2 separate regions of the Homo sapiens genome follow, and region 1 is linked to region 2. Evidence: promoter capture Hi-C in 16 types of primary human blood cells and fetal thymus (Javierre and others, 2016). All regions are on one chromosome and are shown on one strand. The core of a region is centred on a gene start or on the middle of the fragment in contact, and the rest is flanking DNA. Distances in the headings are between cores, read along the strand shown.

What was found. Contacts are between HindIII fragments. The CHiCAGO score rates a contact against its expected background, and 5 or more counts as called.
Region 1: a fragment that was not itself captured here is called in contact with the fragment with the promoter of TMED4 in region 2 in 13 of 17 cell types (naive B cells, M0 macrophages, naive CD8 T cells and 10 more); the score reaches 8.9 in naive B cells.

The regions. Positions count from the first base shown.
Region 1 is chr7:44,849,440-44,855,683 of GRCh38, forward strand. H2AZ2-DT (H2AZ2 divergent transcript) reads left to right here. Exons shown (of 2, transcript NR_187581.1): 2 at 20-126. Among named protein-coding and RNA genes, the nearest start is that of H2AZ2-DT, 4.1 kb to the left of the region's middle. The HindIII fragment of the contact is 3,414 bases long and covers 2,251-5,664 here.
Region 2 is chr7:44,580,074-44,586,092 of GRCh38, forward strand. It overlaps TMED4 (transmembrane p24 trafficking protein 4), which reads right to left and starts at 2,158. Exons shown (of 5, transcript NM_182547.4): 1 at 1,974-2,158; 2 at 1,650-1,750; 3 at 1,376-1,501; 4 at 1,020-1,166. The coding sequence starts at 2,133. RefSeq lists silencers at 1,782-1,881, 2,282-2,441 and an enhancer at 2,532-2,641. The HindIII fragment of the contact is 9,471 bases long and covers 1-4,663 here.

The DNA of each region.
Region 1 (6,244 bases), core at 2,708-5,207, 270 kb after region 2:
ATTTTGCTTACATCATTAGGTTAAAATTTGGAGGATAACTCCCAGCTAGAAAGGAAGAAAAGCTCTAAAGTGGAATCGCCTTCCCCCGGAAGCTGTTGTAAAAATTAAAGGATGTATGTGAGTGCACAGGCTCTCCAGCGATCGTTTTTCTTCCACAGTGTTAACACAATTTATTTATTTATTTACTTTTTGAGATGAAGTCTCACTCTGTTGCCCAGGCTGGATGGAGTGCAGTGGTGTGATCTGGGCTCACTGCAACCTCCGCCTCCTGAGTTCAAGCGATTCTCCTGCCTCAGCCTCCTGGGTAGCTGGGACTAAAGGCTCCCACCACCATTCCCCGCTAGTTTTTGTATTTTTAGTAGAAATAGGGTTTCACCATGTTGGCCAGGCTGGTCTTGAACTCCTGACCTCAAGTGATCCTCTCGCCTCAGCCTCCTAAAGTGCTGGGATTACAGGCGTGAGCCACCGCGCCTGGCCTGTTTCCACAATTAAAAAAGGCCCATCACCCTATCATGATCATCTCTATTACAGTCTGGACAATATGAGCTTTCTGGGAGAGCCAGCTTCATTTCATAACTGAAGAAATGGGCTTAGGTGAACTTAGTCATTTGCCTGAGACCGCATAGCCTGTAGATAACCAAGATACCAGCTCACATTTGTTCCAACTCATTCCAGCTTTAAATTCTTTCATTCTTTTCACAGTATGATGCATTGACTGTGCTAGAATGTGTTCTTGGTGTTGGTGAGTTAATAGTGAAAAAAACAAGTTTCTGCCTTAGTGGAGATTCTGTTGTCATAGGATTTTCCCAGGCTGGCACTTTAGAAATTTATATCCAGGCTGATGATAGCTGTTCCAAAGTTTGAATCAGGAGAAGCAACTTTGGGGAAGTGAGTCTTTAAAAAAAGGTAACTTAAATTCAAGAAGAGGAAGAGGGTGAGCTTCTAAGTAAGAATTTGGAAAAATACGGATGAAGGTACAGACAAGTGTGAGGAAGGGTGTCCAGTGAAATAGGAAGGAATGGAGCAATGTGCCCAGATTAATAGAAGCCTCAAAACTAGGTAGAAGAGTGGAGTTACTTCAGTAAAAATAGCCATTGTTAATTCCTGCTCCTCTGTGTTTCTGGCCTCAGTGGATGGCATTACCAATCTACCAAGGCATAAGCCTGTGAGTTATTCCTTTAACAAATCACTCAGTGCCTACTGTTTGCAGGCACTGTGCTAGGTACTGAGGATTTGGTGATTAGCAAAATAGACATTGTCCTTGCCCTTGTGGTCCTCTGCAGCGGGAGTCAGATGTTAAAGAAATAAACAAATACCATATGTGAATTATAATAAGTTCAAGTGTGCTGAAGGAAAAGAACAGGGTGCTTTAAGAGAGAAACAGGGAATGTAGTTTAGCTGGTGTGGGTGGTCCACAAAGAGCATGCAGGCTGGGCGTGGTGGCTCACTCCTGTAATCCCAGCAATTTGGGAGGCCAAGGTGGGTGGATCATCTGAGGTCAGGAGTTCGAGACCAGCCTGGCCAACATGGCAAAACCCTGTCTCTACTAAAAATGCAAAAATTAGCCAGGCGTGGTGGCGCATGCCTGTTATTCCCAGCTACTCAGGAGGCTGACGCAGGAAAATCACCTGGGCCCAGGAGAGCCTGGGAAGCGGAGGCTGCAGTGAGCTAAGATTGCGCCACTGCACTTCAGCCTGGGCGACAGAGCAAGACTCCACTCCATCTCAAAAAAAAAAAAAAAAAGAAGAGTTGCCCTTGTGAAGGGGGGCTGAAAGAAGTGTCCAATAATGTATGAGAAAGCACCTAGCACTGTACCTAGCACATAATATCCAATAAATGTTAACTTCCTTCCTTAACAGGAAAATCATTTTCTCACCACTCTCTACCCCTCAGCCTTCATGTCATTGATTCAGATTTTGATGAAAGTGGAGTTAGGTTGAAAAAGACTGGTTCTCATTGTAGATAATAGTAATCCTTTCACTGATTTATATATCATCACTAAATTATATCATCACTGTAAACACAGATGCCAGAAAAAAGTCTGCCTACTAACAGTTTTATAAACCAAGTGTGTTAGTAAAATTTAGTTTCTAGTGAACTAGGGTAACAAAAAAGGCAAAGATGAGCTCATGAAGAACACCAGTCTAACCAGAAAATGTTATGTATTAGCATCTATAAATGATAAACTACAAACATTGACAAATTATTCAACTTTGGGCTGGGGATGGTAGCTCATGCCTGTAATCCTAAAGCTTTGGGAGGCCAAGGCATGAGTCACCAGGGCAGGAGTTTGAGACCAGCCTGGGCAACATGGCAAGACTCCACTTCTACAAAAATTAAAAGAAAAAAATTAGCTGAGTGTGTGGCACATGCCTGTGATCCCAGCTAGTTGAGAGGCTGAGGTGGGTAGAGAACTTGAGCCCACGAGTTCAAGGCTGCAGTGAGCTATGTATGATTGTGTCACTGCTCACCAGACAGGCAACAGAACCAGACTGTATCTCTAAAAAAAAAATTATTCAATGTTGCTGGATTTAACCCAGTAATATATAGTATAATTGTTCTCAAAGTGTGATCCTTAGACCACCAGCATCAGCATCACTTGGAACTTGTTAGAAATGTATTCTCACCACCACCCCAGACCTGCTGAATCTGACACTGAGGGTGGGACCTACAAGCGCTCCAGGGGATTCTGGTGCATACTGAAATTTAAGAACCACTGGTATAGTATATGCTGCAGTGCACAGTCCAGAGCCCACGTATTCCTTATAAAACTGGAGCACTTGGCCAGGTGTGGTAGCTCATCCCTGTAATCTCAGAACTTTGGGAGGCTGAGGTGGGCAGATCACCTGAGGTCAGGAGTTCCAGACCAGCTTGGCCAACATGGTGAAACCCCATCTCTACTAAAACAAAAATTAGCTGGGTGTAGTGGCATGCGCTTGTAGTCCCAGCTACTCTGGGAGGCTGAGGCAGGAGAATCACTTGAACCCAGGAGGTGGAAGTTGCAATGAGCCGAGATGACGCCACTGCACTCCAGCCTGGGCAACAGAGCAAGACTCTGTCTCAAAAAAACAAAAACAAAAAAACTGGAGCACTTATTTAGCTCCTGGAAGTGTTGACTGATCATTACTCAGGGATCTCTACCCAGGAATTGGACTTGGCCAAAGGAAGCTGTATCGCCCAAGTTTACACTCCTTTTTAGGGGGCCTACCTCCAGTGACTGGTGGATGTAGGATATAGTGCCTAGCTCTTTTGCCTTAATTTGAGACAATTCTGAAGGGCCATTCCAGCTCCAGAGTTTCTTGTGTGATTAGTTTTGACTTGATCTAACTGCATTGAAGTTCAACTTCTGCGTAATCCTACTTCCTCTATTTTCTCCTAGTAATGTCCCCAAGAGCATTCCATACTATTACCTCTTGAAAGCAAATCCCATTTGTTTCCTGGGAAACCTGAACTAAGACAATGACTTTTCTCTGCAAAAATGTAGTCAATTTTTGAGTAGGCAAGATATTCACACGTACAAAATTTCAAAATGTACAAAGGGTATACAGTGAAAAGACTCCCCTGGTGCAGTGGCTCATGCCTGTAATCTCAGCACTTTAGAGGTTAAGGCAGGAGGATCGCTTGAGCCCAGGAGTTCGAGACCAGTGTGGGTGACATAGTGAGACCCACATCTCTGTGAAAAATAAAAAAAATAAGCCGGGCGCGGTGGCTCACGCCTGTAATCCCAGCACTTTGGGAGGCCGAAGCAGGCAGATCACGAGGTCAGGAGATCGAGACCATCCTGGCTAACGCGGTGAAACCCCGTCTCTACTAAAAATACAAAATATTAGCCGGGCGTAGTGGCGGGCGCCTGTAGTCCCAGCTACTCGGGAGGCTGAGGCAGGAGAATGGCATGAACCCGGGAGGCGGAGCCTGCAGTGAGCCGAGATTGCGCCACTGCACTCCAGCCTGGGCGACACAGCAAGACTCCGTCTCAAAAAATAAAAAAATTAAGAAAATAAGCCAGGCATGGTGGCGTGCACATGTAGTCCCAGCTACTCAGGAGGCTGAGGGAGAAGGATCACTTGAGCCCAGGAATTTAAGGATGCAATGAGCTGTGATTGTGCCACTGCCTTCCAGCCTGAGTGAGAGCAAGACTCATACACACAGACACACAAACTCCTCCCATCCTTGCCCTTAGTCATCAGTTTCACCTCTGCAGAGGTGTTGCTGATACAGTGAAGTGTGTTAGCATTTAGAGACTTCAGACTTAAAGATTACTATACATAGATTGCAGGAGCTTTTTATCCCTGTGTTCACTTTTAAATTCCATTTTAATGCTGCAGTGCTCTTCAAAATATCACAAAGACTGTAAGAGACAGAAATTTTCTTTTGGCTATTCCTTTTTTTTTTTTTTTGAGACGGAGTCTCGCTCTGTCGCCCAGGCTGGAGTGCAGTGGCGCGATCTCGGCTCACTGCAAGCTCCGCCTCCGAGGTTCACGCCATTCTCCTGCCTCAGCCTCCCGAGTAGCTGGGACTACAGGCCCCCGCTACCACGCCCAGCTAATTTTTTTTTGTATTTTTAGTAGAGACGGGGTTTCACCGTGTTAGCCAGGATGGTCTCGATATCCTGACCTCGTGATCCACCCGCCTTGGCCTCCCAAAGTGCTGGGATTACAGGCGTGAGCCACCGCGCCCGGCCTCTTTTGGCTACTTTTGTAAAGGATAGCCAAATTCTCCTTTTTAAAGTACAGTCATGCATTGCTTACTGATGGGGATACCTTCTGAGAAATGTGTCATTAGGAAATTTCATCATCATGCTCACATTATAGAGTGTACTTACACAAACCTAGATGGTATATATAGCCTACTAGACACCTAGCTATATGGCATAGCCTGTTGTTCCTAGGCTACAAATCTGTACAGCATGTTACTAGTGCTGAATACTACTGTAACATAATGGTAAGTATTTGTATACCTAAACATAGAAAAGGAACAGTAAAAATACAGTATAAAAGATACAAGGCTGGGCTGGGGTGGCTCATGCCTATAATCCCAACACTTTGGGAAGCTGAGGTGGGCAGATCACCTGAGGTCAGTAGTTCGTGATTAGCCTGGCCAACATGGTGAAACCCCATCTTTACTAAAAATACAAAAATTAGCTGGGTGTGGTGGCACATGCCTGTAATCCCAGCTACTGGGGAGGCTGAGGCAGGAGAATCGCTTGAACCTGGGAGGCAGAGGTCGCAGTGAGCCGAGATCGTGCCATTGCACTCCAGCCTGAGCAACAAGAGCGAAACTCTGTCTCAAAAAACAAACCAACAAACAAAAACCCCAAAAAAGATACAAAATAGTACACTTGTATAGGGCACTTACCATAAATGGAGCTTGCAGGACTGGAAGTTGCTTTGAATGATTCAGTGAGTGGGTGGTGAATGAATGTGAAGGCCTAGGACTTTATACTGTATAGTACTGGAGACTATGAACAGTGTGCATAGGCTCCTCTAAATTTATAAAAATATTTTTCTTCAATAATAAGTTAACCTTAGCTTACCATAACTTTTTAACTTTATAAACCTTTACATTAAAAAATTTTTTTGAGTTTTTGTAAAACACTTAGCTTAAAACACAAATACCTTGTATGACTGCACAAAATGTTTTATTTCTTCATATCCATATTCTGTAAGCTTTTTGCTTTTTATTGAGAAGGGATTTTACTCTGCCACCCAGGCTGCAGTGCAATGGCGCAATCTCAGCTCACTGCAATCTTCGCTTCCTGGGCTCAAGTGATTCTCTCACCTCAGGCTCCTGAGTAGCTGGGACTATGGGCACAGATCACCAGGCCCGGCAAATTTTTGTATTTTTTGTAGAGACGGGGTTTCACCATGTTGCCCAGGCTGGTCTCCAACTCCTGGACTTAAGTGATCCTTCCCCTCTTGGCCACCCAGAGTGCTGGGATTACAGACCCGTGAGCCATGGCACCTGGTCTATTTTTAATTAAAAAAAATTGTTTTTTCACTTTTAAAAACTTGTATGTTAAAAATGAAGAAACAAACACACATATTAGCCTTGGTCTATACAGGGTGAGGATCATCAATATCACTGTCTTCCAGCTCCACATCTTGTCACACTGGAATGTCTTCAAGGGCATTAACACATATGGAGCTGTCATGTCCTGTGATAACAATGCCTTCTTGTGGATCCCTCCTGAAGGACCTGCCTGAGACTGTTTTACAGTTCTTTTTTTATGAGTAGAAGGAGTACA
Region 2 (6,019 bases), core at 908-3,407:
ACAAATACTGAATGATTCCACTTATATGAGATAGGGTAGTCAGGATCATAGAGACAGAAAGTAGAATGGTGGGTGTCAGGACAAAAGGAAACGGGAAGTTATTGTTTATAATAAGTACAGATTTGCTGGGTGCAGTGGCTCACGCCTGTAATCCCAACACTTTGGGAGGCTGCGGCAGTGGATTGCCTGAGGCCAGGAGTTCAAGACCAGCCTGGCCAACATGGTGAAACCCAGTCTCTACTAAAAACACAAAAATGAGCCACGCATGGTGGCACTTGCCTGTAATCCCAGCTACTTGGGAGGCTGAGGCAGGAGAATCGCTTGAACCTGGGAGGCGGAGGGTGCAGTGAGCCGAGATGGCGCCACTGCGCTCCAGCCTGGGCAACAGAGCGAGACTCCATCTCAAAAACAAAACAAAATAAGTACAGATTTTTAGTTTGAGAAGATGAAAAAGTTCTGGAGCTGGATGATGGTGTTGGTAGCACAACATTATGAAGGCACTTAATACCACTGAACTATATAGACAGTTAAAATGACACATTTGGTGTTATATTTTACCACAATAAAATGTTTTGATAAAAAAGCAAAACAGGCAGGGCGCGGTAGCTCACACCTGTAATCCCAGCACTTTGGGAGGCTGAGGCGGGCGGATCACTTGATGTCGGGAGTTCGAGACCAGCCTGACCAACGTGGAGAAACCCCCGTCTCTACTAAAAGTACAAAATTAGCCAGGCATGGTGGCGCATGCCTGTAATCCCAGCTACTCAGGAGGCTGAGGCAGGAGAATCGCTTGAACCTGGGGAGGCGGAGGTTGCAGTGAGCCAAGATCATGGCATTGCACTCCAGCATGGGCAACAAGAGTGAAACTCCGTCTCAAAAACAACAAACAAACAACCTATCTAAACCAATACTTCTCATTCCATTCTCTGCAGAGCTGATCTCCCAAGCAGAAACTTGAGTAGGTATAGTGGGTATAAAGGTCAACTGCCCTCTCAAATTACAAGGAGATATGCACTTGCCCTTTGGTAATCCTGCTCCTTCTGAATCTGTTCCACCTGATCAAGCAACTGGCGGGCGCGGAGCTGTAGCTCCGTCAGCTTATCTTTTGCAGCAATCTCAGGGTAGTTGTTGGCATGCTCCCCAACCTGGATGTCGAGATGCACCCGCTACAAGGAAACATGGAATGTATGAGTGGTGGGGCCTCCAGTTGTCTGTTCCAGGGTATGGAACCCACTATTGTCCCTGGCTGTGGAGCAGAAGGCAACATCTGTCTCCCCAATTCTGACTGTGCTACAAAGTTTCACAATCTTGATAAATCAAAATTTGGAAACAAGTGAGAGATTCTAAGCTGAAGCCAAAGAGAAAATCCTCTTACCAGTTTGCCACCAGCGAAGAGAGCCATCCTGGTAGAATTGGAGTGCAGACAGATTTGATGGTCACCGGGCGTGTGGGAGGTGAACGTGAAGCGGCCCTCCGAGCCGTACTGCCGGGACAGCACCACCTGCAACATATGTGAGTGAAGGCCCCACCTTTATACCGCAGGCTCTCCAAGTGCAAGTTCCTGTCCCTTGAGGCCTCCTCCAGGCAGTGCTTTACACCCCACGGGAGCTCCACTGAAGAACGGCTGCGTGGGCCAACGCCAGCCTTACCTTGCCGTCGGGGTCCTTCACTTCCACGTGCATGCCCAGGCCAGGGGTCGAGGGCAGGAAGACCTCCTTCTGCTTATCCCACATCTGGGTACGATAGTTGCCTGCGGGGCAGACACATAGTCACGACCGGCCCTAGTGGGCCGCCTCTCCGCCCGGCCCCCTCCGACGTGCGGCCCGGAGCTCTAGGCAGGGGGCCTGGCGTCCTCGGGGCACCCTCAGGCTAGGTACTGGGGGAGCCAGCGACCCGGCTGGGCTCGGGAGGAGGGAGCGCCGCCGAGGGCTGAGCTGGGTACAAAGGGCCTCCCCACCCTCAGCCCGCCTGACCGATGACCATGGTCTCGTCGGGGATTTCCTCGATGAAACAGCGCTTCTCGGTCTCGCCGATGTGGAAGTAGAGCCCCTGGGCGCCTGTGGCGCACAGCGCGAGAAGCAGCAGGGCCTGCCGCCCCATCGCCCGCAGAGGCCCAGCCCCGACACCTGCCATCGCGCCTCAGCCCCTAAGCGCCTGCGCACATTTGCGCATCGCTCTGCGCCTGCGCGCCACCCTAGCGACCCTGAGAGTTAGGGGAAGAGGACGCCTGCGCAGTGATATGTACTCGCCGTCTCCTGCAACTCCATCCGTACCGAACACTGCCGCGCCCCGCCCCCTCACACAGCCCGGCGCCCGCCTACCCCCGCAACGAGAGTAGAGGGCGCATGCGCAATGACGTTCGCCCTTAATTTCTCGCCCCTTACCCCGCAGCTTACCTCCGGCATCTCGCAGGGGAGGCACGCCTGCGCAGTCACGCCCGCCCTCGGCCCCAGTCAGCGATTTGGGTCTCGGAGCACCAAGGAGACGGTGGACGGAATCTGACCAGGCTTGGTGGCTACGATGGCCTGAAGCGTGCCTTTTGGGTTCTCAGCTCGGGCTCACAAGTGTTTTCTGTGCTAAATACAAAAAGCCCTGTGATGTTTTGCTTTGCGTGTCCACCTATCTGACTCGTAAGAACCGAGGCTGAATCCAGACCCACACTCTGTCACGTCGGGAGAGCCTGCCGCGGCGAGCCTCTGCGAGCGGGCATTTCTTGGGTGGGGACCAAAAGCCCAGTGCTGCCATAGTTTCGGATCATTCTTTTAAGAAGCTGGGGCCGGGCGCGGTGGCTGGCACCTGTAATCCCAGCACTCTGGGAGGCTGAGGCGGGCGGATCCCTTGAGCCCAGGAGTTCGGGACCAGCCTGGGCAACATGGTGAAACCCCCGTCTCTACAAAAAATTAACCGGTGTGGTGGTGTGCGCATGTAGTCCCAGCTACTTGGGAGGCTGAGGCAGGAGAATCGCTTGAACCCAGGAGGTCGAGGATGCATTAAGCAGTGATCGCGCTCCAGCCTGGGCGACCGAGGGTGATACCTTGTCTTAAAAAAAAGGTGGGAGAGTGGAACGAAAACTTGGAATAAGTAGGGTCATGGAGCTTGTTTACATCCCCTAGTTACAGCACATCCTTTTGAAAGTGAAAAACAAACTGGAATGTTACTTAGTGGGCATGGAATCGAAGCAACGGAAGGTTAAAACTGTTTTTATCAAGGCCAGGCGGGCGCGGTGGCTCACGCCTGTAATGCTAACACTTTGGGCGGCCAAGGCTGGTGGATCATCTGAGGTTAGAAATTCGAGACCAGTTGGGCCAACAAGGTGAAACCCCCGTCTCTACTAAAAATACATTTTATCAACAGAATTTCGAAACTTTTATATAATAGAATAATTACAATGAACTTTCATAAAGAACTTGAGCATACCTGGATTTTGGTATCCGTAGGGGTCCAGGAATTATCCCCCTTGGATAATAACGGAGGGCTGTACTCATCATCCAACTTCAACAACAGTTTGCTGCCTTTCTCATTTCATGTATCCCTTTCTGCATTTTTTTTTGAAGTGCTGTATATTAAAGCAAATCCTGGACATCATGTCATTTCACCTATAAATACGTCAGTGTGTGTCTCTAACAGATAAGGACTTTATACTATTATCACACCCACCAAAATTTTAAAAATTATTTAACATCACTTAATACCTAGTATGTGTTTAATTTTCCCCATTGCCTTAAAAAATTTTGTACATTAGATATTTAGGGTCCAAACAAGGTTTACTTACTGCATTTCATACAAATATATGTCTCTTAATATATAACAATTTTGGCTGGGCACAGTGGCTCATGCCTGTAATCCCAGCACTTTGGGAGGCTGAGGTGGAAGGATCACTTGAGGTCAGGAGTTTGAGACCAGCCTGGCCAACATGGTGAAACCCTGTTTCTACTAAAAATACAAAAATTAGCCAGGTGTGGTGGTGCACACCTGTAATCTCAGCTACTTGGGAGGCTGAGGCAGGAGAATTGCTAGAATCAGGGAGGTGGAGGTTGCAGTGGGCTGAGATGATGCCACTGTACTCCAGCCTAGGCAACAGAGTGAGATTCTATCTCAAAACAAACAAAAACAGGGCCGGGCGCAGTGGCTCACACCTGTAATCCCAGCACTTTGGGAGGCCAAGGTGGGCAGATCACGAGGTCAGGAGTTCGAGACCAGCCTGGCCAATATGGTGAAACCCTACCTCTACCAAAAATACAAAAATTAGCTGGGTGTGGTGGTGCTCACCTGTAGTCCCAGCTACTTGGGAGACTGAGGCAGAAGAATCGCTTGAACCCAGGAGGCAGAGGTTGCAGTGAGCCGAGATCATGCCACTGCACTCCAGCCTGGGTGAGAGAGAGACTCGTGTCCAAAAAAAAAAAAACAAACCATATAACAACATATATATATATTATACATATTATATATATATTATATATATAAATTTCCCCTCTCTTTTTGTTGTTTGTTATTCATGGCATTTACTTATTGAAGAAACTGGGTCATTTGACCAACAGAATTTTCCACTTTCTGGGTTTTGCTGATTGTATCTTCAGGTGTCATTTAACGTTTTTTGTCCCTGGTATGTCCTGTAATCACAGTTAATTCTAGAGTCAGGGGAGGTTTACAGTGAAACTAATGAAGCTTAATCTTCAGGCCCTCCCTTGCATAGACCCCCGTACCTAATTTCGCATTTATAATTTTGTGTCTTTTTCTTAAAGAGGACTGTGAAATTTGTATAGTTTAAGGCCCCACAAAGCTTGGATTTGCCCCTGGCTAGAAGCTTCATTAGGTTTAGGTGTAATGTTGAGGTTTGGGTTTTTTTGTTTTGTTTTGTTTGCAATAACGCTTCGTGGCTGGCACTATGTACTTCTACTGAGGCACAAGGCGGGTTTGTCTCTTAGTAATATTGTAATTCATCTCTCAATTTGGGGGTTGTCATCCTGATTATCCATGAAGTTTACCATCAGCCTTTCTTCTAATAGTCTAGCAAACGTTGATGATCATTAGACCATTGGTTCTCAACGAGGGTTGATTCTGCCCTGTCCTACCAAGGGGAAATTTGGCAATGTCTGGAGATATTTTGGATTGTTGCAACTGGGTGGGGGGTGGCGGGTGGTACTGCTGTTATCTAGAAAATGAATGCAAGGAATACTGCTAAACATTGTATAATTCACAGAGCACACCTCCCCCCCACAGCGAAGAATTATCCAGCTCAAAATGTCAGTAGTACCCAGGTTGAGAAACCCTAGTGTAGTTTTATGATGTTCCTTAGGTGTGCAAAGTGGTAATTTCAAATGCTCTCATTTCTCCTGCATTTATAAGATGAGATTCTTCTACAAAGGTGAGCATTCCCTCATCTCTCTGGTTACTTTGAAATACAATCCATTCGGGATAGCCAGGATGTATGCTTGATGCTTTCCCACGCACAGTGGCTCTGCCTATAATCCCAGCACTTTGGGGGGCCAAGACAGGAGGACTGCTTGAGCCCAGGAAATGGCAAGATCTTTACAAAATATGTAAAAATTAGACAGGCATGGTGATGCATGCCTGTAATTCCCGCTACTTAGGAGGCTGAGGCAGGGAAATGGCTGGAGCCCAGGAGGTTGAGGATACAGTGAGCCGTGATGGGACGACAGCACTCTAGCATGGGTGACTGAGTGAGACCTTGTCTCAAATAATAGTAATAATAATAAAGATGGATGGATGGATGCCCCAGCAACCTCTAACTGTGACCACTTTGGGTTCTTTGGGGAGAAGGGGCAGTGCTATCATGAATTGATGGATGTTTAGATATTTGATGTGCTTTAATCCATTACAGTCATTGTCCTTTTTTAAATGTTCAGATTGTCTCATCAAATATTTAGTTGCTGCTGTGTCCTTCTGGCACAATCCTAGTAATCCACAATCCTAGTAGTCTTTAGGTCAAGCTTGTCCAACCTGTGGCCCATGCAGCCCAACACAAATTCATAAACTTTCTAAAAACATTATGAGATTT